3 separate regions of the Homo sapiens genome follow, and all the other regions are linked to region 2. Evidence: promoter capture Hi-C in 16 types of primary human blood cells and fetal thymus (Javierre and others, 2016). All regions are on one chromosome and are shown on one strand. The core of a region is centred on a gene start or on the middle of the fragment in contact, and the rest is flanking DNA. Distances in the headings are between cores, read along the strand shown.

The links. The method cuts DNA at HindIII sites, captures the fragments that hold promoters and counts their contacts. A CHiCAGO score of 5 or more calls a contact.
Region 1: a fragment that was not itself captured here is called in contact with the fragment with the promoter of RPS12 in region 2 in 1 of 17 cell types (endothelial precursors); the score reaches 5.4 in endothelial precursors.
Region 3: a fragment that was not itself captured here is called in contact with the fragment with the promoter of RPS12 in region 2 in 1 of 17 cell types (megakaryocytes); the score reaches 7.1 in megakaryocytes.

The regions. Positions count from the first base shown.
Region 1 is chr6:133,525,417-133,528,311 of GRCh38, reverse strand. The region is part of intron 19 of EYA4 (EYA transcriptional coactivator and phosphatase 4); the gene reads right to left. All of the region lies in intron 6 of TARID (TCF21 antisense RNA inducing promoter demethylation), which reads left to right. Among named protein-coding and RNA genes, the nearest start is that of EYA4-AS2, 70 kb to the right of the region's middle. The HindIII fragment of the contact is 5,594 bases long and covers 1-2,895 here.
Region 2 is chr6:132,813,168-132,816,067 of GRCh38, reverse strand. It overlaps RPS12 (ribosomal protein S12), which reads right to left and starts at 1,499. Exons shown (of 6, transcript NM_001016.4): 1 at 1,455-1,499; 2 at 1,286-1,336; 3 at 980-1,096. The coding sequence starts at 1,299. SNORD101 (small nucleolar RNA, C/D box 101) reads right to left here and starts at 761; the gene lies at 689-761. LOC107986644 (a long non-coding RNA gene) reads left to right here and starts at 1,780. Exons shown (of 3, transcript XR_001744345.3): 1 at 1,780-2,775. RefSeq lists enhancers at 1,034-1,163, 1,594-1,873, 1,788-2,534. The HindIII fragment of the contact is 13,401 bases long and covers 1-2,900 here.
Region 3 is chr6:133,503,935-133,507,017 of GRCh38, reverse strand. EYA4 (EYA transcriptional coactivator and phosphatase 4) reads right to left here. Exons shown (of 20, transcript NM_004100.5): 14 at 823-912. TARID (TCF21 antisense RNA inducing promoter demethylation) reads left to right here. Exons shown (of 9, transcript NR_109982.1): 8 at 748-939. Among named protein-coding and RNA genes, the nearest start is that of EYA4-AS2, 49 kb to the right of the region's middle. RefSeq lists an enhancer at 668-1,867. The HindIII fragment of the contact is 5,382 bases long and covers 1-3,083 here.

The DNA of each region.
Region 1 (2,895 bases), core at 200-2,699, 710 kb before region 2:
CAAACTTCTTAATTTTGTTAATCTAGGAAGAAAAGAGGGTGAATTCCTTTCTGTATAAAAATAATTTGAAGCAGGACTACATAAAGTAGAAAAAAAAGGTGGGGATTATAACTTTCTTACTTGTCTGGGACAACCAATAACTTAAGCCAGTAGAGTCGACCTGATTTATTTCACTGGCGTAGAATTGAGAGAAAGTACTCTAGCATACATTTTCAATGGGGAAGATATCTCCAAAGGGACACAAATGAGCTCTTGTGGGGCAGAAAATCTTAGACATTACAGTGGTTTGTGGCCTTCAAAAGATATACTATAATAGTATACAGTACATATGTGACATTAAAATTTCATGAAAGGGAGTAATTAGAAAAAAACTGTCTAAAGAGTCCCCACTGGCGATGATAATGAAAAAGAAAAAACACTGCATTACAGGAACTGACAAAACAAAAGCATGATTTGTTAAGTTTGGGCTGATGACATCTTCTAGAATATGTACGTATAAAATATTCATGTATATAAGGGAAATGAGTATATAGATATAAAACATGCAAAAGATATTTTATTTAAGAACTAAGTAGCATAATAATCCTTATTGCTATATAATTCCTTGCTGCACACTATGGTAGCCACCAGCCACATGTGGCTATTGAGCACTTGAAATGTGGTTGGTCCAGTTTAAAATACACAATGAATTTCAAAGACTTAGGACAAAACAAACAAACAAAAAAGAATGTAAACATGACTTCAATAATTTTTACATTAATTAGATATCAAGACAATTATTTTGGGTATACTGGGTTGACATGTTATTAAAATTAATTCTACCTGTTTCTCTTTAATTTTGTAAAATGTAGCTTCTAGAAAATTTCAAACTACATATACAGCTTGTATTAATATTACATGTTTCTATGGAAGAGCGCAGCTAGACATTCCTATTCCTAAACTTTGATATTTCTTCTTAAATTTCTCAGACAAAATATGTCTAGGTCAAATTAAGTCACTGAAATTCACATAGAAGTAACATTTTTTCATTCAGCTCAGATCTATTTGTAACAACAAAACAGTACTTAACATTTCTGCACATGCGATTACCGCTACATCCAAAGAAAAGCATGCATTCTGGGTACTAGAGAAACCAATCACCTCTGTTTTAAAATAGAATAATAAGCCTTCACCATCACCAAAACTGTACCTACATAAACAACCATTTGGAAATAGCATTCTATCTGAGATTGTTTTCCATTCAGGGTTATGCGTTTCCCTCCTGAAGTTTTAGGTATAACAACTGGTAAACCGAATCTAAACATTAATGCTGTGGAAAACAGGTAGACTCGGCTAAGTTTTAATTGTCAAAAGCATATTGTGTTACTGGTTTGGAAAACTGAATTATATTAGTCCTTACCTAAATATACGTGAATTTAATTTGCATAGGCTAAAAGACATGTAAATTTAGCAGGAGTGGGGCTGTATTACTAATCATTGGCTGCTCTTTGTTGTGTATAACTATGGTGCCAATAAGAAAAATCACAACATGGACTCAGGACATTGACAAACTCCAGAAGATATTTCAGTTCAGTGTGACTGGAAGCATTTGAAGTAGTAGTCAGCAATGAAAGCCGTATTTCTTGAGGCTGCAGCCCTGACCTCATACAGGACGTGCTTGGGGCTAGTGTGCTGTCTTGGGTCATTGACACTGCTAATGAAGGCTGAGGTGTTCTGTGGCAGGCAGAGCCTGAGCCTACTCTCTTAAATGTAATCGAAAAGCAAGTATGGCTGCCAATACGTCACCAAAACTTCTAAAGTGGAAGTGCTTTCCTTTTCTCCATTTTGCTTGATTTAAATCGACTAGAAACATACATCATTTCCTTTCTCTTTCTCTTATAGCCATAAACTTTTCTATAAAACTGTCTATGTTGACTGTTTTTTGAAAACAGGTAAACATTCCAGCACATGCAAATGGCAAAGGCTTTATTAGATGATGATTTAAAATCTCCTTAGGGTGATACAGATGACATTCTTTCTATGTAAAACAGTATAGGCTGGCATGTCATTGTTTTAAAAATACTAATTCATCATCTGGCTTTGTTTTGTAAATTCTATCACTTTTATCTTGGGTAGATGATATTTTTCTATCATTCGGTGAAGGCAGCAGTAGATCTTAGGGTGGAGTTGACAGTCTGGTGGTGGGGGCCAATCCTGATATCATTCTTCTTTTGATGTTGAACCAACCATTTAATGGTTTTTAATTGCCTTGGTTTCTTCTTCAGAAATACGGGCCAGATGAAAAGGCTTATTAAAATACTTAGGGCCCATGGGATCTTCTGAATGTGTTCAAAGCCAGCTGCTTGGCTTCAATCAAGTACCACTGGCTCACCAAAACAGATGAAACTCTTCTAGGAGATGTGAGGCACATTACGGCTAAGACAAGTTGGTGCAAAAGGATCTGAGCAATACATCCCATTTCAGTAGCACTTATTAAAATCTCTTGTAGCAGTTTTTCTTCAGCTATTAAATCTGCCCTCAGCATTCCTTATCATGGAGCATGCCTACTTCCAGGCACTCACGAGGACCATATGGCATGCAGGTCTCATGAACTACTCACATGACTTTTGTATGGAGCTCATTAATCTCTATCTTGCTAAATTTCATGTGCTTAACAATGGTTATTCTCCCCCCCAATCTTTCTTGCAGATCCCCTGGCTCATCTATATCTGTGCACATTGTATGTGTATTAATATATACATATGCATCTATATAAGCATGTGTATACATGCCCACACAAATATATATGTTACTATATATATTTACTATATGTATATACTTTCAAACACATAAATAAATATAACTAAATTTCCCTGCATTTCCTATCAAATTTCAGGCAAAAAATGCTAAACTCCA
Region 2 (2,900 bases), core at 250-2,749:
GAGGTCAGGAGTACCAGACCAGCCAGAGACCAACATGGCGAAACCCCGTTTCTACTGAAAGTACAAAAACTAGCTGGGCATGGTGGCGTGTGCCTGTAATTCCATCTACTCGGGAGGCAGAAGAATCGCTTGAACCTGGTAGGTAGAGGTTGCAATGAGATCGCGCCACTGCACTCCAGCCTGGGGGACAGAGCAAGACTCTTTGTCTCAAAAAAAAAAAAGAAAAAAGAAAAAAAAAAGACTGTGGCATTAATGGAACAGTTATGAAATGCCATGCAATAATGCCGAAATAGAAATACAGAAGACTCATACTAGGACCTACTAAATACATTAAACAATAATGCCGTTTCCATCGGATTGAACTGGCTAGATTACACCAAAACGAACTTGTCCTGTAAAACCTTAAAACTGCATTTAAATTCAGCTCAAGAGTAGGTTGATTTGTCAATGCCACCACCCTAAAAAACACATTAACTCGATCCATTCAAATACATTAACAAATATCCCAAATTCAAATAAATCACAGCTATTATACTACTAAATTCATCTAGGACCAAATGCTTCTGAAACCTGAGTTTGAAATTCCATTAAATTAATGCTTGTTTTGCAAACTACCAGATGTAATGTGGCTCTCCATCTCATCTATCTGCCAGATAAGTATAAGACTGACTAGCTCCACAACCTACAGGTTTGTCAGACTCTTATGTTTCACTCATAAAAGGAGTGAAGGGGTATCCGACAATTAAAGTCATCATTCAAACACTGTAGTTTTGAGTGCTTATCCCCATTCCAAACAGCAACCCACACATTTTAAGTGGGCTTTATAGATCTGAGTTCTGATACCTTTTCCTAGGTTTCCGGTAGGACGGATGCCATTCAGAACTTTTGCGCTAACACCATGAACTCCATGCCTTCTTCCCTTGGGTGGCAGTTTTGTTCCGGTTGCAAGAACCCACAGTATTGAGACTGATACACGTACTTGTCTAAGGCTTTGGCAGCTTCGCGAATTCCACGTGCTAGGCCATCGTGGATGAGGGCAGTCTTCAGAACCTCTTGTAAAGCAGTATTAACGTCCATTACACCTCCAGCAGCAATGCTTAAACGCGACACATCAGAACCATCAGTTAAAATCCTCACACCACATAAGGCCTTGCACTCAGCAAAAGCTAAGTGTACAACAGACGCGCTTACGGCGACCCGTTTGACCCAGTCCTGTTCCGCCAGCTCTAGCCCCACGCCTCAGCCGCACCCCGACCCCAACTCCAACCCCGGCCCCTGGGCTCACCCTTCCTCGGCCATGGCGGTGGGTTACGGGTGAAGTTGAATCTTGAACGCACTAAAAAACAAAAGCATTGACTTGTTAAAGAACCAGATACTCGTCACGAATCCCAGCAAGAACGCAACGAGCCACAAATTATAACCAATACACCCCCCTGCCGCCTCGCTCAACTTACCCCAAGCCTCCGCCTCCGCGCGACTCGGCGGCGGCAGGGAAAGAGGCCTCATCCGCACGCATGCCGGTATTTAAGGGTTTTTCAGGTCCCCTGTGCGCATGTGCACTCCCACCCTCGAAAGAGGTGGCTCCCGCAGTGCCGGGCCTGGGGAGTTTCTGTTTCCGGATTGAGGCGGTTCTGAGGCAAACGTACTGCGAGTTTTCTATCTCTGCCAGGCCGGTCCTTGGCGAGTGCAACAGGCACTACGCGGGCAGCTTCGCGTTGTCCTTCTTTGCGGAGGCGTGGCCCACCGAGGCCCAGGGAACTCATTCTACGGAGCGCGACAGAAGCCAAACAAGTGTGTCCGCGTGTTCTTTAAGGCACCTAGAGCCCTGTATCCCGCCGAGCGCCAGTTTTAACCCTTTCCACACCACGTTCTACTTTCCTGTTGCTTCTACAAGACCCAGCCTCCCCAGGCAGCGCACTTTGTTCCTTCGCTTCTAAGTCACCCTGAGAGACCATGTTTGTGTCGTTGTGGGTGTGATCCTCATCTTTGTCTTCATGAAACGAGAGCCTACATGCTTTCACTCTTCCAGGCTGGAGTGCAATGGCGCGATCTCAGCTTACTGCGACCTCCGGCTCCCGGTTTCAAGCGATTCTCCTGCCTCAGCCTCCCGAGTAGCCGGGATTGCAGGCGCCTGCCACCACCCTGGCTAATTTTTTGTATTTTTAGTAAAGACGGGATTTCACCATGTTGGCCAGGCTGGTCTCGAACTCCTGACCTCAGGGGATCCACCCGCCTCGGCCTCCCAAAATGCTGGGATTAGAGGCGTGACCCGCCGCCCCCGGCCGCTTTCACTATTTCTAAGCCCTTTCCCTGCGGTGTGTTGGTAAAGCGGAACCCTGCAGCCAGGGGTCAATTCTAGTTTCTAAGTATAGCGGGAGTCGCTTCTGAACGAAGTTTGTTCTGCTTTGTTTGGTTTTTAACGACGCGTTGTGCTCGGAATACACAGTTCCGCGCAACTCAGAATTCCTCAGGTGCATTTTCAACACCTACAATGTGCCTGACGCAGGGCCAGGTCCTGGGACTACAGACATGAAATATCCAGTCTTTGAGGAGTCCATTTTCTTCCAGGAAGCAATATTTTAAATTTGGAAGTGATTGGCCATTCCCCAATCCCCACTTCCAAACCAAACGCACGAAACACTACTGAATATGATCAATACTGCCTTTGTGTTTAATTTCCTCTCCTGGGTAGTCAGCCGCCAAACCAGTGAGCAATTATTAGGCGCTTGGCACGTGCCAGCGCTGTGAATCCAGTGGGCAGATACTGTTAGACTGGTGAGTGCAGCGAAAAAAACAAAAATGGGTAACGCAGTAAGAGCACCAGGGAGTTCACCAGAACAGAGACCTGCTGTAATGTTAATAAACTGATAGAGTTCAGTTTACTGATAGAGTTCAGTTTT
Region 3 (3,083 bases), core at 203-2,702, 690 kb before region 2:
TAAACATGCCATCTGAAAAAAAATGAAAGAGAAATCTCTATTTCAGCATAGTTATGCTTGACTGAGAAGTACTTCTGCCAAGAACCTGAACTATTTAGTTATTTCGAATTCTATTATCTGAATGTCTAATAACCTAGGTCATTAGCACACAGATGGCATACTTTATTGCAGTACACATTCAACTACTCTGAGGCTATTTTTCCTTGGGTCGTTTCATTTTGCTGTTGATTTTTATTTTCTATTCCTCTTATTTGCCATTTAGACACTGTCTTGCCATTTGAGGTTGAAAATAGAAACATAATTTTTAAAATGAGAAAATAAATGCATTTAAATGCATCAAATGTGCTTAAATAGTTCTAGCACTGTTTTATCCAGAAGGGAAAGAAACGGGGAATGATAATGTTAGCTAAAGTTAAGTTTCAGATTATCCACAAAATTAATTGATCCACGCTATCACCATGAATAGTGTCTGTGAATATCGTTTAGTGATTAACCTAGATAGGTTCCGGGTTAATAATCTGGAAGAGCTAATGCTGAAACACTAAAAGAACCAAGAGTCATGTACAGCTGTGGACAGTAAGGACAGCAAAGCCAACAATCTCCTCTTCAGAGACATTTTTGTTCTACATATGTATTATTCATGAACACAAATTAACTTTCTGCTTATATTTGTATATACAATTTTTCCTCTTGACAAGAACTTTATGCTTCTCTTGAGCTGAATTTTTATCTTTCTGTTTTCTCGAGGTTATCTACAGATACAGAAACCATCTAGGAGGTCTGGTGTTGGATACAACTATTTGTACCTTGTAAAATTCTTACCTCTAAATCATTAAAAAACAAATGAGTATCAGCAAGATTAAAAATCATTTCTTCCATGCGGAGTCCAAGGGTTACAGCCATGGGGGGATCCTGTAAAGAAAATGTACACATAATGAGGTAAAATTTCAGTAAGCGCTTATTATTAAAAATATTTTAAGCACATATTGCTGTGGTGGAAGAGGGAGAAGACTGCATGGGTTTTTACTGAAGATTCAAAAGATTTCTCAGTTTTCCAAAAAGGTGACTTTCCAGAAGGTTCAGACATACCAAATGCACAGACACACCTGGGAATTCAGACATACGTAACGATGACTCAGCATACATTTTCACATAAAGCTGTATGTTGAGGAGAGAAGGAGGAAGGAAATCAGCTAGTTCATATGACCCAGTTTACATATAATCTATGGAAAGTATTCTGGAGAAAGGTATTTGGATGGGGTGCTGAAGAATGGAGCAAACTTACTAAAAAGAAAGGATGTCTTTTTAAGAATAATGACAAATAATAAGAATTAAAAGATAGAGAAAAATAGGTCAACTGGGTATTTATAGGACTTGAGTAGAGAATGTTATCTGGAGGTGAAACAGGAAGAGCTGGCAGAGGATGGTGCGACCATCACTTAATTTTTAATTGCATTTTTATCAACAAGGTAAGAGGAATCTCCCTATCCAAACATGTGTAGAGTTTGGTCTAACCTGCATTTGACTAAGGTTGAAGAAGGGAGGGGTGAGAATAGCTAAAAGAACATTAGTTCTCTAAGTGTAATCCAGGTAAAAAATATATGCTTTGGGAAGTGATGGGGTCAGTAAAGAGTTAAAATGACTCAATTTTTGTTTACAGAAACCAAGATATTAAACAGCAGCAAGAAGTCGAAAATCAAGACCAGAGTTGTTACTTTACCATAATTAACTGCAGCTGAAGGCCTAGCATCAAGAGATATAAGACTAAAAAGAAAGGAGCATTTGGGGATAGGGATGGGAATAGGGAAGTAATTCATGCTCAAACATTGTGTTTAAAATTATCAAAGTTGGAATGATGTCTAAAGAAGAACTGCTCATAGGTGCAACTCCGAAGATAAGAGAAAGAAAAAACCTGGAAGGGACAAACCCTTAAAATTTGAGACCAGATGGGTGTTAGCAGGGAGAAGAATAAGGTTTTGAATAAAGCTGACAAGTCTAGAAGGATACTATTGGTTTTGGCTGGGAAGTTATTTTGGAAGACCTCAGAGGGTGATTTGGGTTGAGTGGCTGGGCCAGGAGCCAGACTGCAGGGATTTGAGAAGAGAGAGCCGAAATTGTGTTTTCAACGTTCTAATAGTTGGCATTTCAAGAAATGTATCTCAACTTGGGGAAATGTAATGCAAACTTTACTCAATTTATGATAAGAACCTGCAACCCAGGTCAGGCCAAGCAGTATTCATCTACACCCTGAACTGATTCCATTTGCAAGGAGAAACCACTCTTCATTCCACACCTCCACTATGATAATCCATTTTATTCCTATATTTCCTTTCATCATGTTTTGAGGGGGAAGCCCTAAAGTGTAAACATATTTGAGATGTCATCCTGTGTTCTATAGCCATGAAAACCTGGAGAATAGGAATTAAATGCTAAGAAAAAGGCATTGAGTGCTAAGGGGTCACTGGGGTATGAGAGCTAAACTAAGACGATGTGAGTGAAGATAGAGACAAGATAATAATACGCTGGATTTCAACATAATTTTCTAATTGTTTGCATCTTCTCATTTAGAGATTTATGTGGATTTCATAGGCAGAGATTCTCATTTCTCAGTAATGGATGCTGACTCTTCACATATCTGATGGCCTCCTGGTATTATGTCATCCGGTAGCTTGACTGTGCTGCCGGATTCATCCGTCTTCCAGTGACAGAACCATTTGGGACTATATACCCAAAGATCAAATCAGTTCTGTTTTAGCCAACAAATATTCATTAAAAACAAGAATAAAATTATTAATAAGTAGGCCAGGCACAGTGGCTCACGCCTGTGTTCCCAGCACTTTGGGAGGCTGAGGCAGGCAGACCATTTGAGGTCAGGAGTTCGAGACCAGCCTGGCCAACATGGTAAAACCCTGTTTCTACTAAAAATACAAAAATTAGCTGGACACAGTGGTGTGTGCTTGTAATCCCAGCTACTCAGGATGCTGAGGCACGAGAATCCCTTGAACCTTGGAGGTGGAGGTTGCAGTGAGCCAAGATCATGCCACTGTACTCCAGCTTGGGTGACAGAGTGAAACAGTATCTCA